Linked DNA regions of Homo sapiens: all the other regions are linked to region 1. The links are contacts of gene promoters, found by promoter capture Hi-C in blood cells and fetal thymus (Javierre and others, 2016). All regions are on one chromosome and are shown on one strand. The core of a region is centred on a gene start or on the middle of the fragment in contact, and the rest is flanking DNA. Distances in the headings are between cores, read along the strand shown.

The links. The method cuts DNA at HindIII sites, captures the fragments that hold promoters and counts their contacts. A CHiCAGO score of 5 or more calls a contact.
Region 2: a fragment that was not itself captured here is called in contact with the fragment with the promoter of DHRS7B in region 1 in 2 of 17 cell types (monocytes and fetal thymus); the score reaches 6.7 in monocytes.
Region 3: a fragment that was not itself captured here is called in contact with the fragment with the promoter of DHRS7B in region 1 in 5 of 17 cell types (monocytes, megakaryocytes, neutrophils and 2 more); the score reaches 6.9 in monocytes.

What each region holds. Positions count from the first base shown.
Region 1 is chr17:21,125,614-21,128,419 of GRCh38, reverse strand. It overlaps DHRS7B (dehydrogenase/reductase 7B), which reads right to left and starts at 1,456. Exons shown (of 7, transcript NM_015510.5): 1 at 1,429-1,456. The coding sequence starts at 1,448. RefSeq lists an enhancer at 1,135-1,794. The HindIII fragment of the contact is 14,531 bases long and covers 1-2,806 here.
Region 2 is chr17:21,033,521-21,036,326 of GRCh38, reverse strand. The region is part of intron 1 of USP22 (ubiquitin specific peptidase 22); the gene reads left to right. Among named protein-coding and RNA genes, the nearest start is that of USP22, 8.1 kb to the left of the region's middle. RefSeq lists a silencer at 1,783-1,902 and an enhancer at 1,924-2,425. The HindIII fragment of the contact is 891 bases long and covers 911-1,801 here.
Region 3 is chr17:21,197,763-21,200,568 of GRCh38, reverse strand. TMEM11 (transmembrane protein 11) reads left to right here. Exons shown (of 2, transcript NM_003876.3): 2 at 1,729-2,615. The coding sequence ends at 2,245. Among named protein-coding and RNA genes, the nearest start is that of TMEM11, 15 kb to the left of the region's middle. RefSeq lists an enhancer at 870-1,667. The HindIII fragment of the contact is 3,903 bases long and covers 1-2,806 here.

The DNA.
Region 1 (2,806 bases), core at 207-2,706:
AGCCAATTTTTGTATTTTTTAGTAGAGACGGGGTTTCACCACGTTGGCCAGGCTGGTCTCGAACTCCTGACCTCAGGTGATCCGCCCGCCTCAGCCTCCTAAAGTGCTGGGATTACATGTGTGAGCCACTGCGCCCAGCCAAGACAGGGTCTCACTTTGTCACCCAGACTTGAATGCAATGGCGTGATCTCGGCTCACTGCAGCCTGTCTCCCAGGTTCAAGCAATCCACTTGCCTCAGCCCCAACAAATAGCTGGGACTACAGGCGTGTGCTACCTTGCCTGGCTAATAGCTCTATGCCTTTGGATAAACTTCTTAACATCTCTAAGCCCATTTCTCCCTCCATAAATAAAAATTATAGTTCCTATGATTAGGGTTATTACAGGATTGAATAATTCAGTAAAGGGATTAGTACAGTGCCTGTAACATAGCAAACACTCAAAAAATATCAACTATTATTAAGGAATGGAGAAAAGGGGACATGTACATGGTAGGGAAGGCATATTCCACACCCTTGGCAAAGGCACAAACATAGCTTCCATTATGCAAACACACCGTTGCAATCGGCAACAGTGTAAGCAAGAATTCTGCTTACTAAATGTATGAGTGTGTGAAACCCAAACGTTACTTCAAAAGTAACTTCACGATTCTCCAATCACTACATGGAAGGTTTGGAAACTGAAAAAAAGAGCATTATGTGGCTACCATTTGTTGAATACCTACTATGTGCCAGACACCAGCTGAGCACCTTGCACGCGCAGTCTCATTTACGCTTCACAACAACCTTATGAGTGGGCTTGTTACTCCCAAAGTTACAGCTGAAGAAACACTCAGAGTTTAAAACATTTGCCCAAAGCCGCACAGCCAGGAAGCCGCAGAGTAAGTATTGGAAGAGCAAGATATCTCAACCAGCCATTCCCGTGGACGCTCGAGTCAGCACCCTCCTCCTGCCTTCTGAAAAACCGGACTTCCTTTGCTAGTCCTAACTCGCCGTCACTGGCTAAGGTGCCACTGGCCCCCAGCGCTCAACCCTCGGTCCTGCCACTCGCAGACGCTGCGGAGCCTCCCCTACGTCGCGCAGAAATGTGGGAATAAACAGGTTGAAGCCAGGAGCCCTGTGGGCGCGAGGCCTTTCACACACAGCGCCCGGCGCGACACCCATTCCCAGCAGCGGAAACTGGACTCAAGACACCTCGGCGACAGGCGGGTTTCCCCGCCACGCACTCGCCGGAGCCAGGGCTCTGGTCCCAGCGCCTGGGCTGAGTCTTCCTTCAGAGTTCGGCGTCGCGGGGATCCGGAAGCCGCCCAGGGCCCGCGGCCTTAGCTCGACCACTACACCGCTTCCCCTCACCCAAGCCGGGGCGTCGCCTCAGCTCAAGGCCAGACCCTATCGCCTCATCTCGGAGGTTCCTTCTTCCCCAGCCCCTACCTGGTAGCCGGAGAGACCATAGTCAATCAACTTCATCCTCCCGCCTCGGAAGTGACGTGTACGCAGCCGGCGAGGCTCCGTCCAATCCCAGCATTGAGGCTGCGCATGCGCGTTGGGTGGGCGTCCCTCAAGGTGTACACAGGACCCGATGGACCCGAGATCTGATAGGGTCCACCCGCATAACTACAGTGCCTTCATCTTCCGGAGGGAAATTCCGAAGGTCGTGGTTGGTGTTCCGTGGACTTCCGGCGAAGAACACAGTTGGAGAATTCACGATACAGTTATCAAGATGATTATAATGCCACAGTAATCAGAACAGTGTGATAACTGGCACAAAGGTAAAAACAATGAATGAAAAAGAGAGAGACCAGAAACAGACCTGCAGCTATGTAGTCACTTTTTCCTCCTACAAGTAGCCACTGTAATGCAATAAGAAGAGTTTTTTCAATATATAGTGCTAGGTCAATTGAAGGTCGATTGGGGGGAAATGAACCTTGACTCCTATCTCAAGTAAAATAATTCTAGACGGATGGTAGACCTGAATGTGAACAATACAACTCTAGACAATAAAATCGCAGAATATTATGACCATAAGAGAGGAAAATAACGTGTTAGCAGAACACAAAAAGTGCCAGTCCTAAAGGAAAAAGCTGATAAATTGGGTGTCTGTAACTATAAGACACCGAAAAGACCCCATTGAGAAAAGGGAAAGACAATAGAACAGACAAGATATTTGTAATACATATATCTGAAAATGAATTTTATTCAGAATATGTACGTACTTCTTGCAAGTAAATTTTTTAAAGGACCCGAAGTGATTTAAAAAAAAAAAAAAAGCATGAAAAGAGGATATTGAGAGAGTAAAGGGCAGAGGAAGGAAGGGGCAGGGCAGAGGAAGGAAGGGGCGGGGGGACTCTTATCGTTCAAAATCATAAGATGGCAAATGTGTGTAAGGTGGAAAATCTCCCTTTCTGTTCTCCAGGACCCACTTCACCTCCCCCTAGGTAACGATGCTATTAGCTATGTGTGTCCTTCCAGAGCCAGTTTATTCATAACCAAGCAATTATGTATGTATTCAGCACCCCCTTGTTACACAAACAATAGCATTCTGAAACGTCCTTCTGTTTCTTGCTTTTATTAACTTTAGCGAATTAATATATCCTGGAAATTCTTACAGATATTCACAAAATCTGAAAATGGGAAATTTTATTTTTAACTAAATATTTATTTTTGACGTTTTCACAAAAGTTTTTATACCTTTCTGGCCCCTCTCCATTGTTCTGGAAACTCTAGATTCCTGCTTGCCAATTCACAAAGTTTGAATATCCTTGTAGCAAACCCAATATGAACCGTAAGGCAGAAAAATAGGGTCTGGAGA
Region 2 (2,806 bases), core at 107-2,606, 92 kb after region 1:
TAAGGTTTGCTCTTTGTGCTTTAAAGCTCAGTGGATTTTGACAGAGGCATCCACAACTACAGTACTGTACAGAACAGTTGCACTGCCCCAAGAAATCCCTGTGCTTCACCTTCTAACTCTCCACAACCACTGGTCTCGTCTCCATCTCGGAGGTTTTTCCCTTTCCAGAATGTCATATCATTGGGTTCATACAGTCTGTAGCCTTTTCATACTGGCTTCTTTTGTCTAGCAATATCCATTGTATCCATTGAGTGGATTGAAAGTTCATTCCTTTTTTTTTTTTTTTTTTTTTTTTTGAGACGGAGTCTTGCTCTGTCGCCCAGGCTGGAGTGCAGTGGTGCGATCTCGGCTCACTGCAAGCTCCGCCTCCTGGGTTCACGCCATTCTCTTGCCTCAGCCTCCCGAGTAACTGGGACTACAGGCGCCTGCCACCACGCCCAGCTAATTTTTTTGTATTTTTAGTAGAGACTGGGTTTCACTGTGTTAGCCAGGATGGTCTCGATCTCCTGACCTTGTGATCTGTCTGCCTCAGCCTCCCGAAGTGCTGGGATTACAGGCGTGAGCCACCGCGCCCAGCCGAAAGTTCATTCCTTTTTCTTTTAATGGTATTTATCATGTGGCTATACTGGTAAGTCGTTTAAGTTTCTTAATCTGTAGGTTCTCTCTTCATTCCTTTCTTACAGTTTTTTGCTTCTACTTTATCTGTTGAAAAACTTGGGCCTTGTGACTTGTTGACTTCCCTATAGTCTGGATTTTGCTGTTTGCATACTCAACAGTGGAAGTTCAAAGTGTTGTGGTTTGTTTTTTTTTTGTCCTATTTCCTACAAATTGGTAGCAGGGTCTCCTATTAAGGCTTTTCCTGTATTTAGCACACAGACTTGATCACCTTGGTATTAAGCGGATGGAAGCTTAGGTAGGAAGTAAACTCAGTTTTCAAGGATTAAAATGACCCGCCTAATGGATATGTGAGTCTTTTTCTTGCCTCTTGTTTTATGTTGGCCAGTACCTGTAGCAGAGGGTGCTGAAGAGTAGAAATTGAGATAGAATTGAGTGTGAGTTTTATTATTATATGTTAGCAGCTCTGGTAAGAAACTCAGAGAATTAAGTGAGAATGGTAGATTAAAATGAGGCTTTAGGATAATGTGATTGCTCCCCATACATGTGTAATTGACAGTTGTGTGAGGTGAGCTCAATTTAAAGGAAGACTAGCCTAAGCTGGTCAGTACCAGGAGGATTTTGCCCCAGTTTGCTTCCGTCCAAGTGTGTGTCCCTCAGCACAGCATCTCTTGGGCTTCCTCATTTCCTGTTTATGATAATAGAGTACTCACCCCCATCCTTGAGGGATACATTCCAAGACCTCCGGTAGTTGTCTGAAACCACAGATAATACTGAACCCCATTTGTATTACGTGCAAACTTTTTTCCTTCATAATTTCATGGATAGATTTGTTCTTACTGTAGATCTTAGCAACCTTGTTATTTGATATTGTTTTCTTATTAAGAATTTTTACCTTTTCACGTAAAAGAAGCCCTTTATGGCTTTTCTTTGGCATATCCAAATTGCAGCATCAGTACTCTTGAGCTTTGGGGCCATATTAAGCCAAATAAAAGTGGCTTGTGTTCACTTTTATCCGTGATCACATCCGCAACAGTTGATGTGATCAGCAAGACAGCTACCAAGTGACTTAACGGGCAGGTGGCCTAGATGGCACGGAGAAGCTGGACAAAGGGATGGTCATGGGACAGAGCGGGATGTCACTCAGTTTCATCATGTTTCTCAGAACGGCGGGCAGTTTAAAGCTTATGAATTGTTTATTTCTGGCATTTCCATGTTACTATTTTCAGACTGAGGTTGACTGTGGGTAACTGAAACCACAGCAAGCGGAACTGTAGGTAAGGGAGGACTGCTGTGATATTTTATATTTCATACGTAATTTCCTTCTGGTTTTGGTAGTTGGGATACACTTTTTAGGTAGGCCTGGCAAGTAAGTCTCCTGACCTGTCCAAGGACATCACCGGCAACTGCTGGGTCCCAGCCTTGAAATGAGGTCAGTCTGAGGTCTTGCCTTTGCTGAATGAAATTACCCCTTCTGTAAATTGAAAGGTCTGGAGTCGCTGTACCCTTAGATTGATTTTGGCTCCGAGATTGAGGGGCCTGAGTCTGGAAGCTGAGGTTTTTGAGGTTGGGGAACTTAATTTGAGAAGATTATCTAATTTTGGCAAAGTCTTTAGCTTTTTAGTGCCGTATTTTTTTTTTCATATAAAGGATAGAATATTTAGGCCGGGCACGGTGGCTCATGCCTGTAATCCCAGCACTTTGGGAGGCTGAGGTGGGTGGATCACTTGAGGTCAGTAGTTCAAGACCATCCTGGCCAACATGGTGAAACCTCATCTGTACTAAAATACAAAAAGTTAGCCGAGCATGGTGGCACGCGCCCGTAGTCCCAGATACTCGGGAGGCTGAGGCAGGGGAATCACTTGAACCCGGGAGGCGGAGGTTGCAGTTAGCGGAGATTACGCCACTGCACTCCAGCCTGGTGACAGAGCAAGACTCCTTCTCAAAAAAAAAAAAAATTATACCTGTCCCTTCACTTATGTCAGTGTTTGAGTCCTTGAAAAAGTCACTGAAGAGAATGCACAAGAATTAAACTTACCTTCCTAAGATGCTCAGGTTTTAGACCAGTAGGAAGTCATGGGTAATGTGTGAAAAGTGCACTAGCTCTTAAGGTGGTGTGTCATGTTTGCACACTTTTAAAAGCTGGACTCAAAATTCAGTGTACTGTTGAGTCATCCCATAGGGTAAGTCT
Region 3 (2,806 bases), core at 200-2,699, 72 kb before region 1:
AGATGGGTCCGACCATCCTGGGGACCAGGGTGTGCTGAGGGAAGGGGCAGCTTTTCCCTGAGGCATGTGACAGAACATGGCTCTGTGCAGCCTTGGGAGCCATGAGTTGGAAAACTTGATCCAGCCTCAAGAGCTATGTCTAGCAGTGTCCCCGTCAAGGCCCAGATAAAGACTTCTTGCAGATGAGCAGATAACGGAAAACTAGGATGTGGGGTGACGGTGCGGAGATTCAGAGAGATCTGTCTCAGCTGAAACCAGCCAAGGAAAGATGACAAGGCATGGATAGCCCTGTCTTCAGGCCTGCCCGCCACAGGTGAAGAAGATTCTGCTTTGGGTGGGAAATTTGTACCGCAGAGGCCTGAAACCAAGAAAAGCAAGACTGCCTGAAATGCAGCTTGGCCCACGGTCACTGCTGGGGCTGCAGCCGGGCTGCCGTCTGGCCTTGCTGCAGAGCTGAGCGTTCCGTGTGGTGGATTACTCTCCTGCTGGTTGGGGTCATGACATGCATCCCCAGTCCCGGGGGGGAAAGCCCCTTGTGTGGTCTCCGTGGCAGTGTTTCTTATGCAAATGAGTGGCATTTGCCGGTGGTGCAGGGGCCTGGGCCTACAGGGCCAGAATTGGTGGCATTGCTGGGCTGGATGTTTTGAAGCCCCTCAGTTGACCCTCCTGCTTACTAAATTTGGAGCCCACTACTGTTCTTGAAGCGTTGTCTTTTCCTAATTCAAGGAAAGGGTCGCTTTTCCTATGCAGTGGGCTAGTGTCCTGGGTCTCCTCTTCTCCCCTCCGCAGCGGGGAGGAGCTGGGGGCTGCTGCCGGCCCAGGAAGGGCACCCAGGGCTTGTGCAGCCTGGCCTCCAGGAGAGCCAAAGGAGTTTGGATTTCATTCGCCCAAGGCAAAGCTCTTCCTTTCTGCCTCTGTTCTGCAGGCCCAGGATGACTACTTAGGAAACGTGCGGAGGGCAAGGGCTTAGCATTATCTGTCCTGAGGTCTGTGGTTTCCAGTGAAGAATCCTCTTGCAGTTGCCCTGATTAACTAAGAATGGCTTTCAGGCTGTTGGCCCTCTGCTGCCGTGTGTGCTCCTGTGATTCTGTGCCGAATCGTTCTTTCCCCTTTAGGCTCCTTTGCTGACTCAGATCAGTTGGTCCACAGCCTTAGGCTAACCACCAGGCCTGTGTTTGTCATGTTAAACGTCGAGGCACTGCTTTTCCTGCCTTTTTATATCTTTTTTTTTTTTTTTTTTCTGAGACTGAGTCTCGCCCTGTCACCCAGGCTGGAGTGCAATGGCACGATCTCGGCTCACTGCAAGCTCCGCCTCCCAGGTTCAAGTGATTCTCCTGCCTCAGCCTCCCGAGTAGATTACAGGGATTATAGGCATGCGCCACCACACCTGGCTAATTTTTTTTTGTATCTTTAGTAGAGACAGGGTTTCACCATGTTGGCCAGGCTGGTCTCTAACTCCTGACCTCATGATCCGCCCCCCCGGCCTCCCAAAGTGCTAGGATTACAGGTGTGAGCCACCACACCCAGCTTTATTTCACTATTTTCAGGAAAAATCCTTTTTACTGATTATCTTGTGTTGGGATTTAAAGGAGATGAGGACCCAAGTGAGATGTGCTCTCCGCAGTGCAGGCTCAGACCTCCCCCAGCGCTGAAACACAGTTAAGTGCTCCTCAGCCTAATCATCCTGTCTCTCTCTCTCTCTCCCTTTCCTGCCCCCTCCATCAAAAGGGTGAGCTTGTCGGCCACAGACTGCTACATTGTGCATGAGATCTACAATGGGGAGAATGCCCAAGACCAGTTTGAGTACGAGCTGGAGCAGGCCCTGGAAGCCCAGTACAAGTACATTGTGATTGAGCCCACTCGCATTGGCGACGAGACAGCCCGCTGGATCACCGTGGGCAACTGCCTGCACAAGACGGCCGTGCTGGCGGGCACCGCCTGCCTCTTCACCCCGTTGGCGCTGCCCTTAGATTATTCCCACTACATTTCCCTGCCCGCTGGTGTGCTGAGCCTGGCCTGCTGCACCCTCTATGGGATCTCCTGGCAGTTTGACCCTTGCTGCAAGTACCAAGTGGAGTACGACGCCTATAAACTGTCGCGCCTGCCTCTGCACACACTCACCTCCTCCACCCCGGTGGTGCTGGTCCGGAAGGACGACCTGCACAGAAAGAGACTGCACAACACGATAGCACTGGCCGCCCTGGTGTACTGTGTAAAGAAGATTTACGAACTCTATGCCGTATGATTTCAGTAGAACAGGGAGCGAAGCAAAACCACCCGGCCCACAAGAGACAACAGAGTATTCAGATCGCCACACTCTGTGAGGCAGCAGAGCCTGGGCAGGTGTTTGGCTTAGTATTTGTTATTTTTAAAAAATAACAGATCACGGGTGTACCCAGGGTTTTTCAGCTCATTACACTAAGATGTGGATTTCCATAACCCAAGAGGGGGGTCTGAGGCTGTGGAAGTCCGACTGGGCAGTGGAATGCTGATGGAGGCAGACGCTGCCGAGGGGGTGTGGACGTGCTTTGGGGGAGGTCTTTAAGTCTATTGTTTAACTGTACCATCCAGAGCCCACCAGAAGCTATTGATCATTAAAATTATGAGAATTTCAACTCCCGCTGTTCTCTCTTTCCATGACTGCCCGCAGCTGCTGCTGCACATCTGCTCTGGGTGGCGGCTTGCACATGGAAGGAGCAGGTGCCATGGTAGCCACCCTGCCCTGCTCCTAGCTGCGGCCCAGTGTTACCACTTACAGCGACGACAAGCCTAGATCCAAGGTAGTCCTGGGGCCAAACCCCGCCCA